3 separate regions of the Homo sapiens genome follow, and regions 1 and 3 are each linked to region 2. Evidence: promoter capture Hi-C in human tissues and cell types (Jung and others, 2019). All regions are on one chromosome and are shown on one strand. Each heading gives the region's core, a stretch centred on a gene start or on the middle of the fragment in contact. The rest is flanking DNA. Distances are from core to core; before and after follow the strand shown. Region 1 overlaps ZNF765-ZNF761 (ZNF765-ZNF761 readthrough). Region 2 holds the start of ZNF347 (zinc finger protein 347). Region 3 overlaps LOC122539214 (Zinc finger protein LOC122539214).

What was found. The method cuts DNA at HindIII sites, captures the fragments that hold promoters and counts their contacts. A contact is called where the count stands out against the background at its distance.
Region 1: a contact is called between a fragment that was not itself captured here and the fragment with the promoter of ZNF347 in region 2, in 3 of the 25 tissues and cell types used here (hippocampus, mesenchymal stem cells and pancreas).
Region 3: a fragment that was not itself captured here is called in contact with the fragment with the promoter of ZNF347 in region 2 in 1 of the 25 tissues and cell types used here (aorta).

The regions. Positions count from the first base shown.
Region 1 is chr19:53,456,123-53,460,624 of GRCh38, reverse strand. It overlaps ZNF765-ZNF761 (ZNF765-ZNF761 readthrough), which reads right to left. Exons shown (of 13, transcript NM_001350496.2): 13 at 2,364-4,502. The coding sequence ends at 3,877. It overlaps ZNF761 (zinc finger protein 761), which reads right to left. Exons shown (of 5, transcript NM_001289951.2): 5 at 2,364-4,502. The coding sequence ends at 3,877. Among named protein-coding and RNA genes, the nearest start is that of ZNF813, 9.4 kb to the left of the region's middle. The HindIII fragment of the contact is 5,248 bases long and covers 597-4,502 here.
Region 2 is chr19:53,155,580-53,160,712 of GRCh38, reverse strand. It overlaps ZNF347 (zinc finger protein 347), which reads left to right and starts at 1,660. Exons shown (of 5, transcript NM_032584.3): 1 at 1,660-1,704. RefSeq lists a silencer at 1,478-1,727 and an enhancer at 1,463-1,757. The HindIII fragment of the contact is 7,458 bases long and covers 1-5,133 here.
Region 3 is chr19:52,655,672-52,660,431 of GRCh38, reverse strand. LOC122539214 (Zinc finger protein LOC122539214) reads left to right here. Exons shown (of 4, transcript NM_001396016.1): 3 at 4,745-4,760. It also overlaps a transcript of ZNF83 not described here. Among named protein-coding and RNA genes, the nearest start is that of ZNF83, 20 kb to the right of the region's middle. The HindIII fragment of the contact is 3,021 bases long and covers 514-3,534 here.

The DNA.
Region 1 (4,502 bases), core at 1,971-4,470, 300 kb before region 2:
GCGGAAAGCCGCAGGGACCTCTGCCCTAGAAAGCCTGGGTATTGTCCAAGTTTCCCCCAACTGAGACAGCCTGAGATATGGCCTCATGGGAAAGGAAAGGCCTTACCATCCCCCAGCCTGACACCTGTAAAGGGTCTGTGCTGAGGAGGAGTAGTGAAAGAGGGAGGCCTCTTTGCAGTTGAGATAAGAGGAAGACTTCTGTCTCCTGCTCATCCCTGGGAATGGAATGTCTCAGTGTAAAGCCGACCATTCGTTCTATTCTGAGATAGGAGAAAACTGCCCTATGGCTGGAGGCGATATGCTGGCAGCAATACTGCTCTGTGACTCTTTGCTACACTGAGATGTTTGTGTAAAGTGAAACATAAATCTAGCCTACGTGCACATCCACAGTACCTTTCCTTGAACTTATTCATGATACAGATTCCTTTGCTCACTTGTTTCCCTGCTGACCTTCTCCCTACCGTCACCCCGTTGCCCTGCCGCACTCCCCTCGCCAAGATAGTAAAAATAGTGATCAATAAATACTAAGGGAACTCAGACCAGCGCCAGTGCGGGTCCTCGCATGTTGAGCGCCAGTCTCCTGGGCCCACTGTTCTTTCTTTATACTTTGTCTCTGTGTCTTATTTCTTTTCTCAGTCTCTCATCTGATGAGGAATACCCACAGATGTGGAGGGGCAGGTCCCCTTCGCTGTCTCAGCCTCCCGAGTAGCTGGGATTACAGGCATGCGCCACCACACCTGGCTCATTTTGTATTTTTAGTAGAGACAGGGTATCGCCATATTGGTCAGGCTGGTCTTGAACTCCCGACCTAAGGTGATTTGCCTGTCTCCACCTCCCAAAGTGCTGGGATTACAGTCATGAGCCATTGCGCCTGGCCTCTACGTAGCTTTTGGGCAACAGATCGAGACACTGCCTCAAAGCAAACAAACAAACAAAACAAAAAACTGATGTGATCTGCCTGCCGCTCCTAGCATCACCTTCAACACTGTCTTGTCCCAATTCGAAATGAGTTATCCATTTACAAATGGTTTATTTCTTTTGGGCATCATCTCCATAACCTTTTCATAAAGTATCAATGATTCCATTATTCCTCTTCCCAAACTTTACCATAATTTTGTTGTTGCTGTTGTTGTTTTTTTGAGACGGAGTCTCACTCTGTCCCCCAGGCTGGAGTGCAGTGGCATGATCTCGGCTCACTGCAAGTTCTGCCTCCCGGGTTCATGCCGTTCTCCTGCCTCAGCCTCCCTGAGTAGCTGGGACTACAGGCACCCTCCAGCATGCCCGGCTAATTTTTTTTTTTTTTTGTATTTTTAGTAGAGACGGGATTTCACCGTGTTAGCCAGGATGGTCTCAATCTCCTGACCTCATGATCCACCCGCCTCAGCCTCCCAAAGTGCTGGGATTACAGGATTGAGCCACGCCGCCCGGCCCATAATTATTCTTTTATTGAGACAGTATCTCACTCCATCACCCACGCTGGAGTGCAGTGGCATGACCACAGCTCACTGCAGCCTCGACCTCCCAGGCTCAAGCCATCCTCCACCACAGACTCCACAGTAGCTGGCCCTGCAGTCAGATGCCACCATGCCCAGCTAATTTTTGTATTTTTTGTAGACAAGGGGGTTTCACCATGTTGCCCAGGCTCGTCTTGAATACCTGGGCTCATGTGACCCACCTGTCATGGCCTCTGAAAGTGCTGGGATTATAGACCTGAGACACTGCATCTGATCTCATCGTAAATTTGATGTTTCTTCTTGTTTCAATTTTAGCAGAATTTATATTGCTTTGATAGAGTCTCTTTTCAAACTCATGTCTTATCCTTCTGAGTGCCTTAAACTACAGCCTGTTCAGACATAACAGACTTGTACCAGTGTTTTGTTGCAAAAACTAAAATTCATGCAAATTTTCTCATAATAGGTATTTTTCCATGAACTTCTTCAAGATCCATTGTACTAGAAAACTGTATTCAAGAGGACATTAAAAAAATGTAGATATTCAAGTGCCACTTATTTCTGGGATGCAAGGATGGTTCAACATATTCAAGCAAATCAATGTGATATACCACTTGAACAGAACAAAAGATGAAAACCACATCATCTTAATAGAGAAAAAGCATTTCACAAAATTCAAAATCCAGTCATCATAGAAATCCTAAACAAAATAGACAGAAAAGGAAATTTACCTCAACAATAGAAAGACCGTCCATGAAATGACCAATGAGTAAACAGTCAAGCAGGGAAAATGTAATGCCTTTCCTGGAGGCTCTCACATGATGCAAGAATGCTCTCACCCCTTCTATTCAATCAATACTGGCTGTCCCAGCCAGAGCAATGAAATAGCAGAGGAAATAAAACTCATCCAAATCAGAAAGTAAGAAGTAAAATTATATTTGTTTGTAGATGACATAATCTTCTGTGTAGAAAATCACAAAGAGCCAACCAAAATACTACTGGAACTAAGTAACATAGTCAGTGGATTTGCACAATACAGTATCAGCACCAAAAATTAGTTGAATTTCCATACTTTAACAATAAACAATTTTAAAAGAAAATTTTAAAACACTTCCATTTGCTGGAGAACTTAAAGAAATACTTAGAAATAAACGTACAAAGGTCAGAAGTTTGTACCTTGAAATCTACAAACATTGATCAAAATGATTAAAAACATTGAGCTACAACCCATATTGATAGCTTGGAAAAATTAATATTGTGAAATGATTATATAATAACCCAATGTGATTTAGATTCAACATGATATCCATAAAAATCCCTATCAGTTTTTTTAAAGAAACAAAAAACAGGCTGGGAAAATGGCTCACGTCTGTTGGCCAGGCTGATCTCAAACTCCTGACCTCAAGTGATCTACCCACCTTGGCCTCCCAAAGCGCTCAGATTACAGGTGTAAGCTGATGTGCCTGGCCCAATCCTCTTAACATAAACACTAATGTCAATTAATGCTTGAACTCAATGTTAAGTCAATACAAACTCAAGTCAATGCTGAATTGACCCTAATGTCAATTAATGCTTGATGGTTTGCTCTACTCATTGCATATGGACCAACTACCTCCAAAATGAATTTTCTCATATTCTGCAAGGAGTGAACTCAGACTGAAGACCTTGGCACATTGATGACATTTGTAAGATTTCTGTCCAGTATGCATTCTCTGATGTCTCATGAGGTGTGAAGTGAAGGCTTTGCCACTATCATCACACATGTGAGGTTTCTCTCCTGTATGAATTCTCCTATGTTTTGCATAGGATGAAGCTTGACTGAAGACCTTGCCACAGTCATGACATTTGTAAGGTTTCTCTCCAGCGTTGAGTTCACCGATGAACTGCAAGGTATGAACAATGTCTGAAAAATCTGCCACATTTATTACCCTAGTATGATCTCTCTTCCTTATGGATTCTCCAGTGATTCACAATGGTTGTAGCATTACTGAAGACTTTGTGACAATCATTACCTTAGTAAAGTTTCCCTACACCATGGATTGCCTGACGGTAAACAAGTGTTGACTGCCTACTAAAGGCTTTGCCACACTCATTACACTGGTAAGGTTTCTCTCCAGTGTGAATTCTAGCATGTTGTGCCAGGTGCGAATCATGCCCAAAAGCCTTGTCACAAACTCTTACATTTTTATGGTTTCTCTCCAGTATGAATTCTCCTGTCTTTCACGGTTTGATGTGCGACTGTAAACTTTGTGACATTCTTCACATTTATAAGCTTTCTCTCCAGTATGAATTCTCCTGTCTTCTGAGGCTTGATTTGCCACTGTAAACTTTATCACATGCTTCACATTTCTAAGGTTTCTCCCCAGTATGAATTCTATGATGACCTGCAAGGTGTGCTTGTTGATTAAAAACCTCACCACATTCATTACACTTGTTTTTCTCCAGTATGAAGTCTACGATGGCATGTAAGGTTTGACTTCTGACTAAAGGTCTTGCCACACTCATTACACTTGTAAGGTTTCTCTCCAGTATGAAGTCTATGGTGGCATATAAGGGATGACTTCTGACTAAAGTTCTTGCCACACTCATTACACTTATAAGGTTTCTCTCCAGTATGAAGTCTATGATGGCATATAAAATATGACTTCCGACTAAAGGTCTTGCCACACTCATTACACTTGTAAGGTTTCTCTCCAGTATGAATTCTCCTATGTCCTTCAAGGTTTGATTTCACACGGAAAGCTTTGTCACATTCTTCACATTTGTAAGGTTTCTCTCCGGTATGAAGTCTACGATGGCATGTAAGGGATGACGTCCGACTGAAGGTCTTGCCACACTCATTACACTTGTAAGGATTCTCTTCAGTATGAATTTTCTGATGTATTTCAAGGTTTGATTTGAAACTGTAAGCTTTGTCACTATCTTCACATTTGTAAGGGTTCTCTCCACTATGAAGTCTACGATGGCGTTTAAGGGTTAACTGCTGATTGAAGGTCTTGCCACACTCCTTACACTTGTAAGGTTTCTCTCCAGAATGAAGTCTACGATGGC
Region 2 (5,133 bases), core at 411-2,910:
ACTGTTGAAAATGTTTTTGAAATCCTGTTTAGTTATAATGCCTAAGATGTTTTTATACTAACTCAGTGAAAATCTGTGGAAAAGTTTCTTACATAATAAATATGATTAAGCAGTTTTACTGGAAGGGCATTTCTCCAAAGGCTATGGAAATGTTATTTTCAGTTTATGGTATTGAGCAATATATTTCATGGTTTATGTTCAATTGTAGTAAAATTACTTTTTATTTTTTAATATGATTTTCCCTTTTATTTTTTTCTTTCATATATTGTAACCCAGATGAAACGTTTAATATTTTGTTAAAGTGAAAACTATACGGTGTATATAAATAAGGGTGTTGTTTGGAGATAAAATTGTGTGACATGAAAATGTACATAAGACAATAGCAGGTATAAACTAGGTTCTCTATAAACATGAAAAAAGGGTATCCCTGTGAGTCTTTAGTTCAGTCAATGTACTGGGATGGTACGTTAGAAATACTGGAAAACTATTCTTTAGGCGAAAATAAATCCAATTGTCATGTGGTGACTATTTTCCACACTCTGTTATCCACATCTGATAGAACATTAAGAAACAGAAAACAAAAAAATAGACCCAATATAGATTACAATTTTAAAATAAAAAGTACTGTGTCAAGTTCCCTTCAGAATGCCCATAAAGTGAATTTGAAATTACATGATATTTAGAAATTATTGATTTAAGCATATTTTGATGCAAAGAAAGATTATGTCAAAGTTGTTTGTGGTTAAGTCATTTCAAGTGTGGAACGGAATAACGAATATAAGCAAAAATAATGCAGTTTATCTCTATTTTTTAAAAATTCACATGGTTTAAATCAGTAGTTGACTGGGCACAGTAGTTCACTCCTGTAATCCCAGCAATTTTGGAGGCCCAGGCAGGAGGATTGCTTGAGGTCAAGAGTTGGAGACCAGCCTGGGCCGAGACTCCCATCTTTACAAAAATATATGTTTTAAAGAACAATAAAGCAGCCCTTGGTGATCTAACTTATCGGCCTTAACCTTCCCATGAATTGAGCACAGGCTTGACTCTTCCACTGGGGAGAATGGGGATTTGAAATGTAAAGGAGGTTCTGTTGGGCTACTGCATTAAATTGCATATCCGTCCAGGTAGGATGCTGCATTTCCCATTCTACTTTGAATCATCCTCAGAGATAATTTCCAGACATTTTAGTTAAATTAAATACATTTTAATTGCAGGAATTGCTGGATCCAATCGCCGTGCCTCGTGGATCCTCCACTAAGATCCCAGTTCCCAGACCGAGATCCCCGATTCCCAGATCCCCGTTCCTGAGCTGCAGCAGACTCCCTAGCAGGACTGGGTCCAACCCGCCGGCAAACAATTTTAACATAAACCGTTTTCAACTTGGTAAGAGGAAATCATTTTGGTTTCTATCATAAGTGGTCCACGTAAGTCTATTCTTTCACCTTAAAACTGCTTCAAATTGGAACGGTGCTCCCGGGGACATAGTGAACACTCCAGCGTTTCTAAACCGGGAAAAATGAGACTGCGGGCTAGGCAGGCTGAGGGAAGCGCAGACCCCGCCCCAGCTCCGCCCCAGCGTTTCGTCCGCAGACCCCGCCTCTCCCCAGGCCCCGCCCCCAGAGTGCCCGGGCTCTTTTCCGCGCACGCGCAGTTTTCTGCAGTTCCGGAAGCGGATCGTGTTGGGTGCGGGTGACGCCGCCGAGCGTGAGTGTCCCTCAGTATGGATTAAACTTGCGAACCGCCGTGCCCCGTTTCCGCAGCCAGTTCCCGGGCTCGCTACAGACCTTTTTTTTTTTCTTTTTTTTTTTTTTTGGTGAGACGGAGATTTACTCTTGTTGTCCAGGCTGGAGTGCAATGGCGCGATTTCGGCTCACCGCATCCTCCGCCTCCCAGGTTCAAGCGATTCTCCTGCCTCAGCCTCCCGAGTAGCTGGGATTACAGGCATGTGCCACCACGCCCGGCTAATTTTGTATTTTTAGTAGAGACGGGGTTTCACCGTGTTGCCCAGGCTGATCTCGAACTCCTGACCTCAGGTAATCCGCCCGCCTCGGCCTCCCAAAGTGCTGGGGTTACAAGCGTGAGCCACTGCGCCCGGCAGCTACAGACCTTAAGATCCCCGCACCGCGCCCTCCACCCCAGCTGACTCGCGGTGTGGGTTCGGAGTCGCTTCTCTTTGGGTTGAAGTAGCTCTGAGGCTTCTCCCTGTCCCCGGCCTTTCGCGTCTTCCTCCCGCTTAAAACCCTTTCCTGACCCCTCCTCCCGCCCCGGGCTTTTTAAAGTCCTCGCCCGCGAGGTGGATTCCCGCCCTGGGTGCCTCCCAGCCTCGCCCTCGTCGGCCCCTGGAGCGCAGCTCCTCAGCCCCGGTACCGGCGAGGCCGCGTCCTCTGCCTGGTCCTGGCATCCTGCAGACCCCACCCCTCTTCTAAGGCGCCGTCGCCCCGCCACCTCCCTCCTCCTCGTGCCGGGCCCTGCTGCTCCCCAGGCCTCCCCTTCGCAGTCCCCGCTTCTCCTGAGCCCGCGCTGGGGAGGTGCCCGGGGCCTGTCCTGTGACACCCGGTGTTCTTGCCTGCCCAGCTCCAGCCCCTGGAAAATGCGCTCCTCCAAGATGCAGGCGTCTTAGTCCAAACCTTCCTGTGAATGTGTGGACCAAGGGGATTAGCAGGTAGAGAAAGGGGCAGAGACAGAGAGAGAAGTAGAAAAACTGAGAGGAAAGAGTGAGGGAAACCCGTAACCAGATGGCAAAGTAGAGGATGGGCGAGGGATTTGCAGATGGTAAGAGAAGGAGCTGAGAAGGCAGAAGGAGAAAAGCAACTGGGGAAATGTAGAGAAAAGCTCGATGTCCAGAGACATGAAGGACAGCAAGGTAGGGAGAGGGCCAGAAAGTGGGAGGCTCCTCAGACAGAGTCCGGGAGAGGAGGAGGGATTTGGAGCCAGGGCAGACAAGCAGCGTGGTGCTGGGACAGCAAGAGGGGACAGCCGGTGACGAGGAGAGCAGAAGGAGAACCACAGCAGGGGGAGGCCTGGGATCTGGGGGTGCCAGAGAGTGGGGCAAGAGGTGTAGAAGGGAAGAGGAGATTCAACAGAGGGAGCAGAGATGGGAGAAGAAAGAGGCAGAAATATATGGAGACTGGGGACAATGAAAAGACTGGGGAGAAAGAGGAATCAGAGTTGAAACAAGGCCCCAGAATGGGACAGAACAGGTGCAAGCGGAGGAAGAAGGGGAGAAATAGCAGGAGATGAGAGGGGCTCAGAACGACGCGCAAAGAACCAGGGGAAAAACACAGAAAATAAAAAATAAGCTAATGTGAGAATGAGAGCTATGTAGAGGATGAGGGAGGGAAACACACAGTATGGAAGCAAGAGAGGGACCCTGAGTCCAGGTGAGTGGTGCGTTGATTAGATGTGATGATGACATTGTGACATTGGTTTCTGGGTTTAAAATAATGCAACACATTTAAAATACGTTTACTTAAATTATGCAGTTGCAAATGAGAATGGAAGAAACTCCTTTATGTAAAATGCGTAACACGTGCATTTGACAATTATTAGTATTAGGGTATAGCTTCATTTGCAATCACTATTCAAACCAGAGGGCAGTGACTTCGCTCATTTAGTTTTGAGTCCACCCACTTCCCTTTTCCTGGAATAGGGTAGGGTGTGGGCGAGTGTATGAACTAAGAGGAAAAAATATTTTTCCTTTGATTTTCTTTCCTGTCACACTCAATACAACAGGGCACATTCTACACAGTGTCTCGCCTCCACTCACGAAAATGTGTGCGGATTTCTCCCACCAACAACCCGTTCTCTATCAGACACTAACTGAGTGTCGTATAGTTTAACTCAATTCTGAAACTCTCTACCTGGAGTTAGCATCAGATCCCACTGATTGAGGCTCAGTTCCACGAAATTGCCCCCGCATCAGGTGCCAGTTGTAAGTCTCCCGTTGGTACCTGAACTTCTGAGCGACCAGCTATACACTGGGGATTCCCTTGACATCCCCCTCCCCACCACCTCAGGTTCTATTAATTTGTGAGGGCGGCTCAAAGAACTCAGGGAAAACACTTCACTTAGTTTACACATTTGTTATGAAGGATATTACAGAAGATACAGATGAACAGTCAGAAGGAAGAGCTGTCCTAGAAAGTTAATCAAAGCCGAGGAGGGGTTAAGAGAACCACAGTATTTATCAGGTCACTCAAAAGTATAAGTGACAGTTACCACTGGCATACTGTGTCTGAAGTGAGGGGCAGTTTTAGACTGAGCTCTGAACCTGTAGCACCTCGTCATGCAGTCTTTTTTTTTTTTTCTTTTTGAAACAGTCTCGCTCTGTTGTCCAGGCTGGAGTGCAGTGGCGCAATCTTGGCTCAAGGCAGCCTCTGCCTCCCGAGTTCAAGCGATTCTCCTGCCTGCCTCAGCCTCCCAAGTAGCTGGGATTACAGGTGTGCACCACCACATCCAGCTAATTTTTGTATTTTTAGTAGAGACGAGGTTTTGCCATGTTGGCCATGCTGGTCTCTAACTCCTGGCCTCAAGTGATCCTCCTGCCTTGGCCTCCCAAAGTGCTGGGACTACAGGCATGAGCCACTGTGCCCGGCCCATGCTGTCTTGTAGATAATATCAGAGTTGAATGAAATTGTAGGACCCCCGCCTAACCCCCCCCCCCCCCCGAGCTGGGAGTCCCCTGGGAGTCCCCTGGTCATTGTGGGAAAAGCCACACACACATTTTGGTGACTAGAGGTGAAGTATTCTGTGTTTAGTGTGAGAGCAGAATGTAGAGTTGGGTTTTTTCCTATCTCAAAGACTAAAGGAAAAGACCTCCAAGTGGCCCACCCACCTGTCAGGACCTGTGATCTCTACTCAGTAGTGACTGGGAATGGCCTGTTCCTGCTTCTGGCTGCTGCTGGCCCTGCAATTGTGTACCATGTACCAGCCTCACTCACAGTCTCAGGACAATATGCGTGCCATCAATTTTAACTTTTTTTTTCCTTCACAATCTGTAAAGCTTTCAAAATTTTAACTTCAAGGGAATTCATCCCTGTACCTAGGGAGTGGTGTTCTCCATTAAGACACGTACACAGGGCTGGGCACAGCGGCTTACACCTGTAATCACAACACTTTCAGAGGCCAAGGTGG
Region 3 (4,760 bases), core at 775-3,274, 500 kb after region 2:
GGCCAGGCTGGTCTCAAATCCCTGACTTCACTTAATCTCCTTGACAGTTTTTCACTGTTGCTAAGAATAACACACTGGCTGCCTGTGAGCATGGTGACTTCACTGCAGATATCTGGAAGTTTCCTGCAAGTTGGGGCATTGAAAACTGATTGCTTCTTCTTGGATTTGCCATTTCCTCTTTTAGATGTGGGAAGATTCCATCCCTACCCCCAGCTGCAGAGGTGCCCTCTCTGACTAAGACTATGCAAAATTTCCCACTCACTTAAGCAAAGCTTACTACTGTGGTCTTACCACCATGATTCTTACCACCATGGTCTTACCACCGCAATTCTCCTGCCTCAGCCTCCTGAGTAGCTGGGATTACAGTCGCACACCACCACACCCCGCTAATTTTTTGTATTTTTAGTAGAGATGGGTTTCACTATGTTGGCCAGACTGGTCTCGAACTCCTGACCTCATGATCTGCCCGCCTCAGCCTCCCAAGGTCGTGGGATTACAGGCGTGAGTTACCGCCCACCCAGCCGAGAAATATCTTGATAATATTACAGGAGCTCCCTCTTGGGTGAGAGTTAGCTCTTCTTTTGGCTGTTGTTAGGATTCTTTCTCTATCTCTGAATTTTGACAGTTTTATTATGATGTTGTTTGTTATAGGTCTCTTACTTAGATTTATCCATGTTGGATATTCTTAAGGTGTTGAATTTGTTTCTTTTGCATCCTGAAATTAGAAATTTTTGCCATTATGCCTTCCAACAAGCTTTTCTGTTCCTTTCTTCTTCTCACTCACTTCTGTGACTTCTGGTACTCTTTTTTTTTTTTTTGAGTTGGAGTCTTGCTCTGTTGAGGTATTGCTCCTCACAAGAGAGCATTAGCTGTGGGATCTGCATGTCAACCCTGACCTAAACCACATATGAATAAAACATACACTGACACACAGATAATTCCGTTTTGCTAGTTCTGCTGTGTTTCCGACCAGTAGCCTTAAGCAACTGTCTGAACATTTTTATATACCGTTTCTGTTGAGCTGACAACTATTGTCCCGTGATGAAACCTTAGCTTGACTCAACTTCCCCCAGAAGGTGGTAACCTCGAGTGGGCACCAATGACTTACTGATTACTCACTGGCTTGACCACGAAATCCTTCTTTGCCTTTGTTTTCGGGGGTCGCGTTCCTCATGCTTCCATCGCAGCTTTCCTCAAGAGGGCGGTCCTCACGCTTCCTTCACAGGTTGCCTCAAGAGAGGCTTGAACTGTGGGGGGTCTGTTTCTGCAGATCCCTGACTTTCCTCACACAGGACATCAACTGAGGTATTGCTCCTCACAAGAGGGCATTAGCTGCGGGGGTCTGCCCACGGACCCTGGCCCAGACGGATGAATGAAACGTACACCGACACATAGATATTCTGCTTTGCCAGTCCTGCTGGGTGCCCAATCGCCTGCACACCAAGAGCCGGCCCTGAGCAGCTCGCACTCCAGGCATTTATTTAGAATAGAATTAACAACAGAAGTTTGAGTAAACACACTTGAGGATAATTAGCATGGTTAAGAGAGTAGTTTCATGAATGATTAAAGCTCAGGTACTGTGATCTGAAGTAAATACCATTAAGGGGCAATTTCCCTGGTCAGCCTCCCGCTAGAGGGCCATCTGGCTCAAAGGTTAGTTAATGGAGGTAGGGTAAACAGGCTTAACTGGGGAAGCCTCTATTGTCCCTAGTATTTACCCTATGACCTAATGCTCTAAGGTAAGAACCGGGTGCCTTCAGCCTGTTCAATTATTACAAGCTATATAACCTTTCGGCCTTCCAAAAGGTTTGTGACTATTCCCTATAACTTTCCCTAATATTTCTCTTTAATATTTCTGCCCCTATCTTGAGTAAATCCCAACACTGTCACCCAGGCTGGAGTGCAGTGGTGCAATCTCGGCTTACTCCAGCCTCTGCCTCTGGATTCAAGCGATTCTCTCACCTCAGCTTCCCAAGTAACTGAGGTTACAGGTGCGCACCACCACACCTGGCTAATTGTTGTATTTTTGGTAGAGATGAAATTTCACCATGTTGGCCAGGCCGGTCATGAACTTCTGACCTCAGGTGATCCCCACACCCTGGCTTCCCAAAGTGCTGGAATTACAGGCGTGAGTGCTGAAATTACAGGCATGAGCCAGAACCTGGCCTGGGACTTTCATAATGTGTAGGATGGTGTCCTTGATGGTGTCCTGTTAGTCTGTTTAGACTCCCTTCATTTTTCTTTATTCTTTGTTGTTGTTTCTTTTCCTATTCACTACTTTTTTTTTTTTTTTTTGAGATGAAGTTTCACTCTGGTTGCCGAGGGTGGAGTGCAATGGCATGAACTTGGCTCATTGCAACCTCCGCTTTCATGGTTAAAGCAATTCTCCTGCCTTAGCCTTTTGAATAGCCGGGATTACAGGCATGCATCACCATACCCGGCTAATTTTGTATTTTTAGTAGAGACAGAGTTTCTCTATGTTGATCAGGCTGGTCTTGAGCTACCAACCTCAGGTGATCCCCCCGCCTTGGCCTCCCAAAGTGCTAGGATTACAGTCATGAGCCACCATGCCTGTTTTTTTTTTTAGACAGAGTTTTTCTCTTGTTGCCCAGGCTGGAGTGCAATGATGCAATCTCGGCTCACTGCAACCTCCACCTCCCAGGTTCAAGCGATTCTCCTGCCTCAGCCTCCTAAGTAACTGAGATTACAAGCATGCACCACCACATCTGGCTAATTTTGTATTTTTAGTAGAGACGGGGTTTCTCTATGTTGGTCAGGCTGGTCGCGAATTCCTGACCTCAGGTGATCCGCCTGCCTTGGCATCCCAAAGTGCTGGGATTACAGGCATGAGCTACTGTGCCTGGCCCATGCCTGGCCTTTTTTAAAAAATTATTTTATTATTTTTTGAGACAGTCTCACTCTGTCACCCAGGCTGGAGTGCAGTGGGGAGCCCACCACTACACCCAGCTAATCTTTGTATTTTTAGTAGAGACAAAGTTTCACCATATTGATGAGGCTGGTCTCCGAACTGCTGACCTCAAGTGATCTACCCACCTCAGCCTCCCAAATTCCTGATATGAGCTACCTCACCTGTCCCCTTTTCACTAATTTTTAATTTACATAATGTATTCTGATTTTGAACCCATGTATTGAGTTTTTCCATTTAGTTACTGTATTTTTAGCCCGAGAGTTTCTGTGTAGTTCTTCGTAATTTCTGTATGTTGGCTGACCTTCTCATTTTCTTCATGCATTGCATTTATGATTTCTTGAAGTTGTCTCTTAATTCAATGAGCTTCCAACTTTTGGGAGGGTGGGGGTGATAGGGTCTCGCTGTGTCCCCCAGGCTGGAGTGCAGTGGTGCAATCTTGGATCACTTCAAACTCTGCTCTCCAGGCTCAAGCAATCCTCCCACCTCAGCCTCGTGAGTAGCTGTGGATGTGTCCTCTCTAGGTCTTTGCTTATAATGTCCCGACTGAAGTTAATTGAAGTGTGTGTAGGTGTGATTTGCAATGTGTCCAGGAGAGCATTAATGGAGAAGCCCATGATTTTTTTTTTTTTTTTTTTTTTGAGACGGAGTCTCGCTCTGTCGATAGGCTGGAATGAAATGGCACTATCTCAGCTCACTGCAACCTCAGCCTCCCGAGTTCAAGTGATTCTTCTGCCTCAGCCTCCTGAGTAGCTGGGGCTACAGGCGCACACCACCATACCAAGCTAATTTTTGTGTTTTTAATAGTGTCAGTGTTTCAGCATGTTGGCCCAGCTTGTCTTAATCTCTTGACTTTGTGATCCACATGCCTCAGCCTCCATAAGTGTTCGGATTATAGGTGTGAGCCACCATGCCAAGCCAAGCCCATGGTTTTAGTAGAAAACACATTATTTGCAATATATACATACATATATTTTTATTTTGAGAAAGACTTGCTCTGTTGCCCTGGCTGGAGTGCAGTGCTGTCATCTCAGCTTACCACAACCTCTGCCTCCAGAGTTGAAGCAATTCCCCTGCCTCGGCTTCCCAAATAGCTGGGATTACAGGCACATTCCCCCACCATGCCCAGCTAATTTTTCTATTTTTAGTAGATATGGGGTTTCACAATGTAGCCCAGGTTGGTCTCAAACTCCTGACCTTAAGTGATCCACCTACCTTGGTATCCCAAAGTGACAGGATTATAGGTGTGAGCCCCCATGCCTGGCTATATATATATATAGAGAGAGAGAGAGAGAGACGGAGTCTCACTCTGCAGCCCAAGCTGAATTGCAGTGGCACAATCTCAGCTCACCGCAACCTTTGCCTCTGGAGCTCAAGCTATACTCCTACCTCAGCCTCCCAAATAGCTGGGACTAGAGGCATGCACAACCACACCCAGTTAATGTTTTTGTGTTTTCAGTAGAGACTTGGTTTCACCATGTTGCCCTGGGTGGTCTCGAACTCCTGAGCTCAGTTGATACACCCACCTCAGCCTCCCAAACTGCTGGGATTTCAGGTGTGAGCCACCGTGCCCAGACATATATTTTTTGTATTTTCCATAAAACTGAGACTTCCACAGTGACTAGGAGATTTCAAAATCTATCATGGGAAAGTACAATAAAATGCAACTGCACAAAAAGAAATGTTCAAAAATACCTTAATGTGGGTTTGTCAGAACACCGTCTTGGATCAAATCAATACTTATTTTCTCTTTTCTCATTTTGTGTGAAGGTAATGACTCCTCCCTAATGTTTTGTTGAAATGTGTGTTTAATTTTAGGGATGCTTGACTTTCA